Regions from separate parts of the Homo sapiens genome. Here regions 1 and 2 are each linked to region 3. Evidence: promoter capture Hi-C in 16 types of primary human blood cells and fetal thymus (Javierre and others, 2016). All regions are on one chromosome and are shown on one strand. Each heading gives the region's core, a stretch centred on a gene start or on the middle of the fragment in contact. The rest is flanking DNA. Distances are from core to core; before and after follow the strand shown.

Region 1 (2,700 bases), core at 64-2,563, 4.7 Mb before region 3:
ATGGTTAGGCAGAGGAAACTTCATGAATTAAGAAATTGGGAGCAAATCTAATTTATAAACTGGAACAAGGAGATGGAGAAGAGAGAGGCCTTGGACCCCAAGATTCCCGAGCATGGGGAGAGCTCATCGGGGTGACAGAGGTTGAGTTGGAGTGAAAGTGCCATGTCCCTGTAGCTCTGCCCCCTGTCCCTTTAGAAGGAACGTATTGACAGTGGCAGTGGCCCCGAAGATGCACAGGATAAAGCGAGGAACTCTGGAATCCTTCTTGACAGTTCTAATTACATTTGGACTTCTGAGGGGGATGAGTTGGCAATAAGGAAGTAAGAATATGTGGAAGAAAGCCTAGGAAGAGTCAGGGACAGTGCGGGGAAGCCAGCTATCAGTCACTGCCATGAGACTATTACCTCATAAGTTGGGGAAATGGCACTTCCATCTTTTGGTTATTGTTCCAGCTTTTGGCCATTCAGAAAACAGTTGGAGAGTGTTCAGAGCAACCACAGAATCACGGCTTTGGAGACTGGTAATCTTTTCGGTGCAGGGAATATTGCAGAGAAGGTATCACAAAGGATCGTTACATTACCCACCACTGGCCCAAGGACCAGCTGACAATGTGGTAGGCCCTGTAAGGCTGGGAGGGGAACAGAAGGAGTAACATGAGGTTGTCATGCTGGCCCCCTATTAACTTCAGTAGGGAAGGCACCAGGTTCAAAGGCCGAAGAAGGGAACTGGAGCCGGCAAACAAGACATAGGGTTTATTAAGAGGACTTAATACAAGGGGTCCACTGGCAGTGCCCTGGGCAGGAGAACAACAACTGCTTATAAAAAAGCAAGTAGTTTATATAGCATTTTCACTTAGTACCCTCCCCCTAGCAACCTCTACTTGGCAACCTTCATTTAACCCAAAACAAAGGGCCTCCATCCCCTCTACAGCCTGCCTTCCACAGAATGGGCTAGAGGTTTAGATTTTGCTCATAGATAAGAAATGAATTTTCAGGTTGGCCACTCCCAGATTCCTTAGTTTGGAACTCTGAACACACATTCTTTTTAGATCATAGGGTTATTCTCAAGGTATGCTTAAGTTATGTTATTGCTGTCAGGTACAACTGCCATATAGCAATTCTCTCCTTAACTATCTTAAATTCTGATTACTACCTGCAGATGGTAGCAACTGCAAGAACCTCTTCTCCACTCCTGCTAGAATAACTGAAAAGAGGTATGCCCAGTCTGGAGTGAGGGCTTCTGAAATGGTTGCTGTGCTTGCCTTGCAGAAAACAGTGGGTCAGAGAGAGATGGAATTCTGTCAGTACAGCGTCCTTTGCAGGCCTTGGACTGTTGCCTATTGGTAATGTCACCCCACCCCCTACTCCCAGTTGTAAATTCCTTTGGCCAATATCTCTGGCTTGGTGCCTTACTTATTACAGAATTGTTATTCTGCAGGATCAGAGCCAGAGGCAGGCCAAATTTTTGCCAGTCATGCTGAACATGCCATCTTTCTACCCCAACAACTTGCATTTTCCCTGGGAGTCCTGAGAGTGGGGACAGGAGGAAGGAGGATTTTCTGTTGATTGGTGGGGATTCTTCTCAAGAATTACAGGACTTTTAACCCACCTTTTAGCCTCAACCAAGGAAAATGTTTTAATTCTGAGTCCACAGTATCTCCCAGGCCTTCATTGATGACAGGTCAGAGAAAAATGGCCAGAGGGTAAGAGACCTACAGGTGACTCTGAATTCTCTCCTTTTCTTTGTGCCCAACATGTGTCAAATGAGGTTTCCATCAAAGGCAGTTTGAAGGAGAAAAGCCATTAGAAAAGAGCAGAAGGGGCAGGGGGCAGAGGCATCCCACACACCTTTCCTTGGTGCTTGGCGGCAAAGGTTGATGAGGCATGAGGAGCACATAGTAGTGCTTAGTGATGACCGCTCCTCCCCTATGACCGCCTGTGTTATGAGTCAGCCTGCATGCGCAAGCAGGAATTAGACTTGAATAAGCATCATTCAGTGAGATTTGCTGTTTTTAATGTCTGCTCTTTCTCAGTAAGCAGAACCTTGAATTTGAGTCTAATTTGAGTCTAACCTTGAATTTGAGCAGACCTGAATTTGAGCCTAATGAGTCCACTTGGAGATCTTTAATACTTGAAATGATCCTTTTAACTCAAGACTTAACTTCCTTTTTTTAAGGATTAGATGAAATATAAACTGACAGTGTACAACAACTTATGTGAAATTTACCAAGTTCTTATTGTTCATGCACACATGTCCAACCAACTACAAATAAGATTGACCATAATTCTGGCATTAGATCCAACCTCTCCTAACTTGGAAATAGAAAACAACAAAAAGACCCAGTCAAACTTAGCTAATGGAACACATCTTTTTTTTTCTGCTGTCTCCCCTCCTAGTTTTATGTCATTCATAGATGATCTTCTCTGTCTTATGCTGTTCTGATTTGAAGTCACATCGATTTTGTGAAGCTATCATAATTGCAGAGAGTTGGCAGCCTATCTGTTTAACATTGGTTAGGTTTCACATTTTAAGTAGGTATTCCTTAAATGTAGTTCTTTATCTACGTCAAGCTACCATATTCCCTAAGTGATTACTGCACAGATCCATACAATGTTCATTTTCTTCCTATGCTTGCTTTTTGATTTCTTACTTCAGCTATTCACGGCTGCCTGCATTTGTATGATGGGATAAATGATAAAT
Region 2 (2,700 bases), core at 35-2,534, 4.3 Mb after region 3:
CTCGACCTCCTGGGCTCAACTGATTCTCCCACCTCAGCCTTCTGAGTAACTGGGACCACAGGTGTGCATCACCACGCCCAGCTAATTTTTGTATTTTTTGTAGAGAAGGGGTTTCACTACGTTGCCCAGGCTGGTCTCCAACTCCTGGGCTCAAGCAATCCTCCTGCCTCGGCCTCCCATAAGTGCTGGGATTCCAGGTGTGAGCCACTGCACCGAGCTCCAGCAAGATTTTTACATTCTAAATTGGGTTATATTTGTAATAATGAATGTCACTAATAAGAGGAAGTGCAAGTACCAATACGTTCTTTACAGGCCTCATACTGCAGTTTTTCTTTTCTTTCTTTTTCTTTTCATTCTTGGTCATACTGCCATTTTTCTTAGCCAATTTTCTGGCCAAACTCCTCCTCACCACTTATTTTCTGTGTGCTGATGACTATGCTTTACTACTAAATTTGGCTCTTTTGTCTTGCCAGTTCACACCTTCCCTTAAGGCATAATAACCATTTACTACTTAATTTTCGCTTTTCTCCTCTATCTTGCTGGGGTGGTGTAATAAAATTCCAGCTTAACCAATAAGTAAAATGGCTTGCCAGTGATGATAAAGACCACATTTGTTTGGGATATGTAGCAGCACAAATTTAAAAGTAAATAAATAAAACAAGCCCATCTCAATCCTAACTTACAGATACTGGTCAGTGTGACTGAAAACTGAAATTGTTCATGCTAACCAACGTTTTTCAGTTTCCACCTAACATTTTGTTCAGTTTGGTGCCCTCTTGTGCCTCCTATTTTTACAAACACAACTCAGAATTCCTGATGACTTTAGAGAAGGCACCTCCAAGTTTTCACTCATACCAGATATTCCTGGATATAACAGGAATTTGAGAACTATTATGTAATTATTCTACGTGTAACATCTGCTCATCAGATTTTAATATTCAAGCCTCGTGGCTTCAAGTCATTGCCTGTGACTGATCATCTTCACAAATGCAAGAGTCCCCTGAAACTGTCTCCCAACCATTAGGGTGCTCATGCTAACCCCTAACCCACTAGACCCACTACAAGATTCAGTATTTGTAAAGCTGAAAACGTGGTTGTGGCGTTTACATTTTCATTCCGATTGGCCTAGGCTTCCCTCTCTTCTCTCTTGCATGTTTTCTTGCCTTACCTGGTCTGAGAAATGGTGCCGCCCCACCCTTGCAGAGTTAACAGGGGGACGCTTGCCAGCTGCGTGCAGTCCCGGCGGTCCGGATATGCGGGGAGGTGGCGGCAGGAACGCCTGGGCCAGGCGCTGGTACGTTATCCTGTTACAGACCTTGGCCTAGTCCGCAGGTTGCCCCTGGAGAGGCGACGGGGACACCAGACCCTCGATTGGCTCCGCTCCTCCGCGACAGGCTGAGGGGAACAAGCTCTCTTTCGCCTGGGGACGATCCAGTGTTTGGTGGGTCGACCTTAGTCAGGGCCTAGCTGTCGCAAAGAAGGTCAAATTCACCTTGGGAAAGTACGCACCGGGACGGCAGCTAGCACCATAACAGGCGGCCCCAGCGGAGTCTCCCAGGGTCAGGCCAGGACAGCCAACCTGCCGGCCGGAGAGCCGGAGGCGGGGCCGCCCCCTTCCCGGCAGGCTGCCGACTTCCGGACCTGCGTAGACGCCTCTCTGCGCCTCCAGGCGCGCCCCTCCCCCGGCAGGCCGTTTCCCGGCATGCGCCGCGGAGGAAGAGACGGAGTCGACAATAACAAACCAAGCCGCGGCGGTGTCCGCGGCCCTGCCGAGCCCTCGGCGTTGCCTCAGAATCCCCCAGTCGCCTGGGCCCCTCGGCTCTGACAGGCCGCGGCCTTCTGTCCCCCGGCCCCAGACCCAGAGCCGAGGGGCCTGCTCGCGTCCTTGTCCGCCCGGACCCCTCCCTGCCTCCTAGAGTTCGGGGCCGCGGCGGGCGGGCGCCCGGGACGCCGGCGGTTGTGTCGGCTTAGCGGTGCCGAATGGGCGGTTGGTAACCGCTGCCGAGGACTAGGCGGCGGCGGAAGATGGTGCCGGGGGTCGCTGGCTCTGCTGCTGCCGCCGGCGAAGGAGGAGGCGTTGCCGGGTAAGTGTCGCCGCCGCCCGCGTCCCCTTCCCCCATCTGGCACAGCGGTCGCGCGGCGGGCCCTGGCACGGTGGGCCGGGGTCGCATGGTCCAGGGTTCCGGTCGGCCTGAGCCCGGCCCACGCGCAGGTGTGTGCACGGGAGGGCCCCGGCGCCTCCCGCCCCGGCAGGTGTTGCCCACTGGCCGCTTTCCCGGCGCGACAGCCCCTGTGGAGACAAAAGCGGTTCGAGTCGATGCTCCACTAGGCTGCCGGAGGTGTGGGTCGGACTCGTGCTGCGGGGCTGCCTGCGGCTTCCTCGGCCGGAGCCTTGGGATCCCTCCCTCTGCGCTGCCGCTTAGTACCCGGCCTAGTTGCCGGAGTGGCCGAGGGCGAGGGACGTCCGAACCTCCCAAGACGCATCTTGACTTGTGCTCATCGCTGCCAGGGATCAGCCCTTAATTCTGTGTTGGACTCGAGAAACGGGAGAGTGGAGTTTGGCCGAGGCCGAACGAAGCTCACCGAATGGGAGGAACGGAGAGATGATGTCTTTGTCCCGACCCCAGAGTGCGAGGATCGGTATAAAGTTACTCCTAGGAATGACTCAGCCTGCGCCCGCCCCACGGATAGATTTGGGAT
Region 3 (2,700 bases), core at 197-2,696:
TGTCATAGTGTAGGTTGGGGTGGTTCTGTTTAACTTAAACCTTTATATTTCAACCCTGATGTTTATCTTTATCCCTGGGATGGGTTTTGAGAATTACTCTGTGACATTCACTTTTAGATATTTGAAAGCAGCTTTGCTTCATTGCAAAGTTACTCTCAAAAGCTGACAAGAAAGGCAATGCTAGTTCTTTAAGTTCTGGTGCTGTCAATACTCTAGGGATTGTTCTTTCACTGATTTGTATTTGTACTTGATTTTGTGCTGTGATTCTGGCAGGGAAATCACAGTGCTTTTGTTGTATGTGTATAATCTGGCAGTGCTTTTGTTGTATGTGTATAATCACATGCAAATTCTAGGGATGCCCTGAACTCTAAGTAAGCGGTAAAGGTCAGGCTCTACATGACTTGCTTAGCAATGGATGTTTAGAAGTTTGGTATACTTGCAGTTTTTCAGGTGGTTAATTCTAAAGTCCACTTAAAACCAATGCTGTTTTGCTATGAACAGTAAAACAGGCTACATTTTAAGTTGATTTATATAGATATTTTAACATTTAAGAACAATACTATACATCTTAATATTCACTTTTAAGATTAAAGATAAACTCATGAATACTTATAAAGTATTCACTATCATTCTAGCTAAGATCGGTGTTATAGTAGAAGGTAGTTATTTCTGTCAAAATACTTCGAGAGCCTACGCTGACTCAAAGATTACATGTTCTAGACTGACCATCTCCGGATAACCTCTATTTTAAGTGGACTCTGTCAAGCAATTCCTCTTCTTAAGCTCTGGTAGGAGAGCCAGGCTCGAGTACCCTTGGAAATGAGAGAAGCCTGGTTTGCTTTCTTTCATTATGAAAAACCCGGATCAAGGCATGTTTTTCAGCTGCTTCGAGGATGGTTTATTCTGGCAGGTGGAGGAGAGAAACTCTATACACACATAAGCATTTAGGGCACGACAAAGATGTCAACAGAATGAAGAGCCAAGTACAATTCTTCCCCTCACCGCCCAGTTCCCCGTCCTGCCGGGAAGAGCGCGGAGAAGCGACTTAAAGGTACAGGCTGTCTACACCCCCGCTGGCTAAAAAAGCTTGCAAATCAATCTTTTAAAATGGTTTATTGTGTTTTCCTCCATTCCTCAATAATCTGAGAGTGATGAGAAGACTAGACTGTTACTGTGGGTTTATTACAGCCAGCCATAGTCGTACAATGGGATATTTAATTTAAACACCCACAAGGCACTCAGCACAGCACACTGTCCTGTGCGGATTGCTGCTCGCCACTTCCAGGAATACCTTCCCACCCAGACCAAGGAAGGCAGCTCAGTCCAGCGCCTCCTGTCCCGCCCCGCCCCGCCCCAAGGGGAGGTGCCCAGCTCTCCCCGCCCCTCGCCCTCGCCCTCGCCCCGCCCCGTCGCGTAACCCGGATACACACCCACGCTCCCCTTTCACCTCGCGGCCGTAGGCTAACGTGGAAGTCGGACCAGCCGGCCGGCGGAAGAACCTAGAGCGCGCTGCCTGGCGAGTCAGGCGCGCGGGGCGGCGTTGGTGGTCTTCGCGGCGCAACTCGGCCTTTCCTGGGAGGGAGTGATGGGGCGCACCGGGGCCGGGGAGCGGGCGCCAGTGTAGCCCGCGCGGCGCCTGGCCCGGAGCGCGGCGGCTGCGGCGGCGGCGGCGGCGGGCGCTGGAGGCCTGTGAGAGCCGCAGCCCGGAGCGCCCGGCTTCCCACGCCATGGCCCCCATGGGCATCCGCCTTTCCCCACTGGGGGTGGCAGTGTTTTGCCTGCTGGGGCTCGGCGTGCTCTACCACCTCTACTCGGGCTTCTTGGCCGGCCGCTTCAGCCTCTTCGGCCTGGGCGGCGAGCCTGGCGGCGGCGCGGCGGGGCCCGCGGCCGCGGCCGATGGGGGCACCGTGGACTTGCGCGAGATGCTGGCTGTGTCAGTGCTGGCCGCAGTCCGCGGCGGCGACGAGGTGAGGCGCGTCCGCGAGAGCAACGTCCTCCACGAGAAGTCCAAGGGGAAGACGCGCGAGGGAGCCGAGGACAAGATGACCAGCGGCGACGTGCTGTCCAACCGCAAGATGTTCTACCTGCTCAAGACCGCCTTCCCCAGCGTCCAGGTGGGAGCCCACGGGCGGAGCGCCCACTCGAGCCGGGTAGCGCGTCTCGGCCCGTCGACTCTTAACAGTATGGGATGTGGAGCTTCTGGTTCCATTTTGTAGATGTGGAAATTGAGACGCAGAAGTTAACGTGCACAAGGTCAGACAGACAGCAGAGGAGCTGGGTGAGGTTGCACGTAGTCTGACTCAGGGCCCGTGCCCTTTTGGCTCGTCCTGGGTCGGGTGTGCGCCGTGTGTACCTGGGATCAGAAGGCCTTGAAACGAAAAGGCTGACAAAGTTAATTGCACCCGCAGCTTCAGGCTCCTCTGTAGAATTAAGGGGTTGGCTAAAATCCACCAAGACTCTCTATCCTTCCTTGATTTCATCCCTAGAAGGGTCGAAACTGGAGTACACATTTTCTGGGTGGCCTGCCAGTAGCCAGCTGAAAGACCGAGTCTTGTTGCAGAGCTGTTAGTGTGCGGGGCATTTGTGTGTGCGTGTGTGCGCTCGCGGGAGTCGGGGTGGGGGGGTGGGGGATGAGTATGCTCATTTCGCTGTCTTTTTGTCAGGACGCTCTAAAGTTTATAGTTTGCGGGCCCTTTAAGG

The links. The method cuts DNA at HindIII sites, captures the fragments that hold promoters and counts their contacts. A CHiCAGO score of 5 or more calls a contact.
Region 1: a contact is called between a fragment that was not itself captured here and the fragment with the promoter of BPNT2 in region 3, in 1 of 17 cell types (non-activated CD4 T cells). The highest score is 12.7, in non-activated CD4 T cells.
Region 2: a fragment that was not itself captured here is called in contact with the fragment with the promoter of BPNT2 in region 3 in 1 of 17 cell types (activated CD4 T cells); the score reaches 7.1 in activated CD4 T cells.

Annotation. Positions count from the first base shown.
Region 1 is chr8:61,720,826-61,723,525 of GRCh38, reverse strand. No RefSeq gene overlaps it. Among named protein-coding and RNA genes, the nearest start is that of MIR4470, 7.4 kb to the right of the region's middle. RefSeq lists enhancers at 715-1,914, 1,708-2,304. The HindIII fragment of the contact is 8,516 bases long and covers 1-2,700 here.
Region 2 is chr8:52,713,459-52,716,158 of GRCh38, reverse strand. It overlaps RB1CC1 (RB1 inducible coiled-coil 1), which reads left to right and starts at 1,724. Exons shown (of 24, transcript NM_014781.5): 1 at 1,724-2,084. RefSeq lists enhancers at 1,160-1,209, 1,230-1,539 and silencers at 1,600-1,769, 1,800-2,269. The HindIII fragment of the contact is 3,580 bases long and covers 1-2,700 here.
Region 3 is chr8:56,992,613-56,995,312 of GRCh38, reverse strand. It overlaps BPNT2 (3'(2'), 5'-bisphosphate nucleotidase 2), which reads left to right and starts at 1,446. Exons shown (of 5, transcript NM_017813.5): 1 at 1,446-2,114. The coding sequence starts at 1,728. RefSeq lists a silencer at 1,330-1,889. The HindIII fragment of the contact is 2,693 bases long and covers 1,089-2,700 here.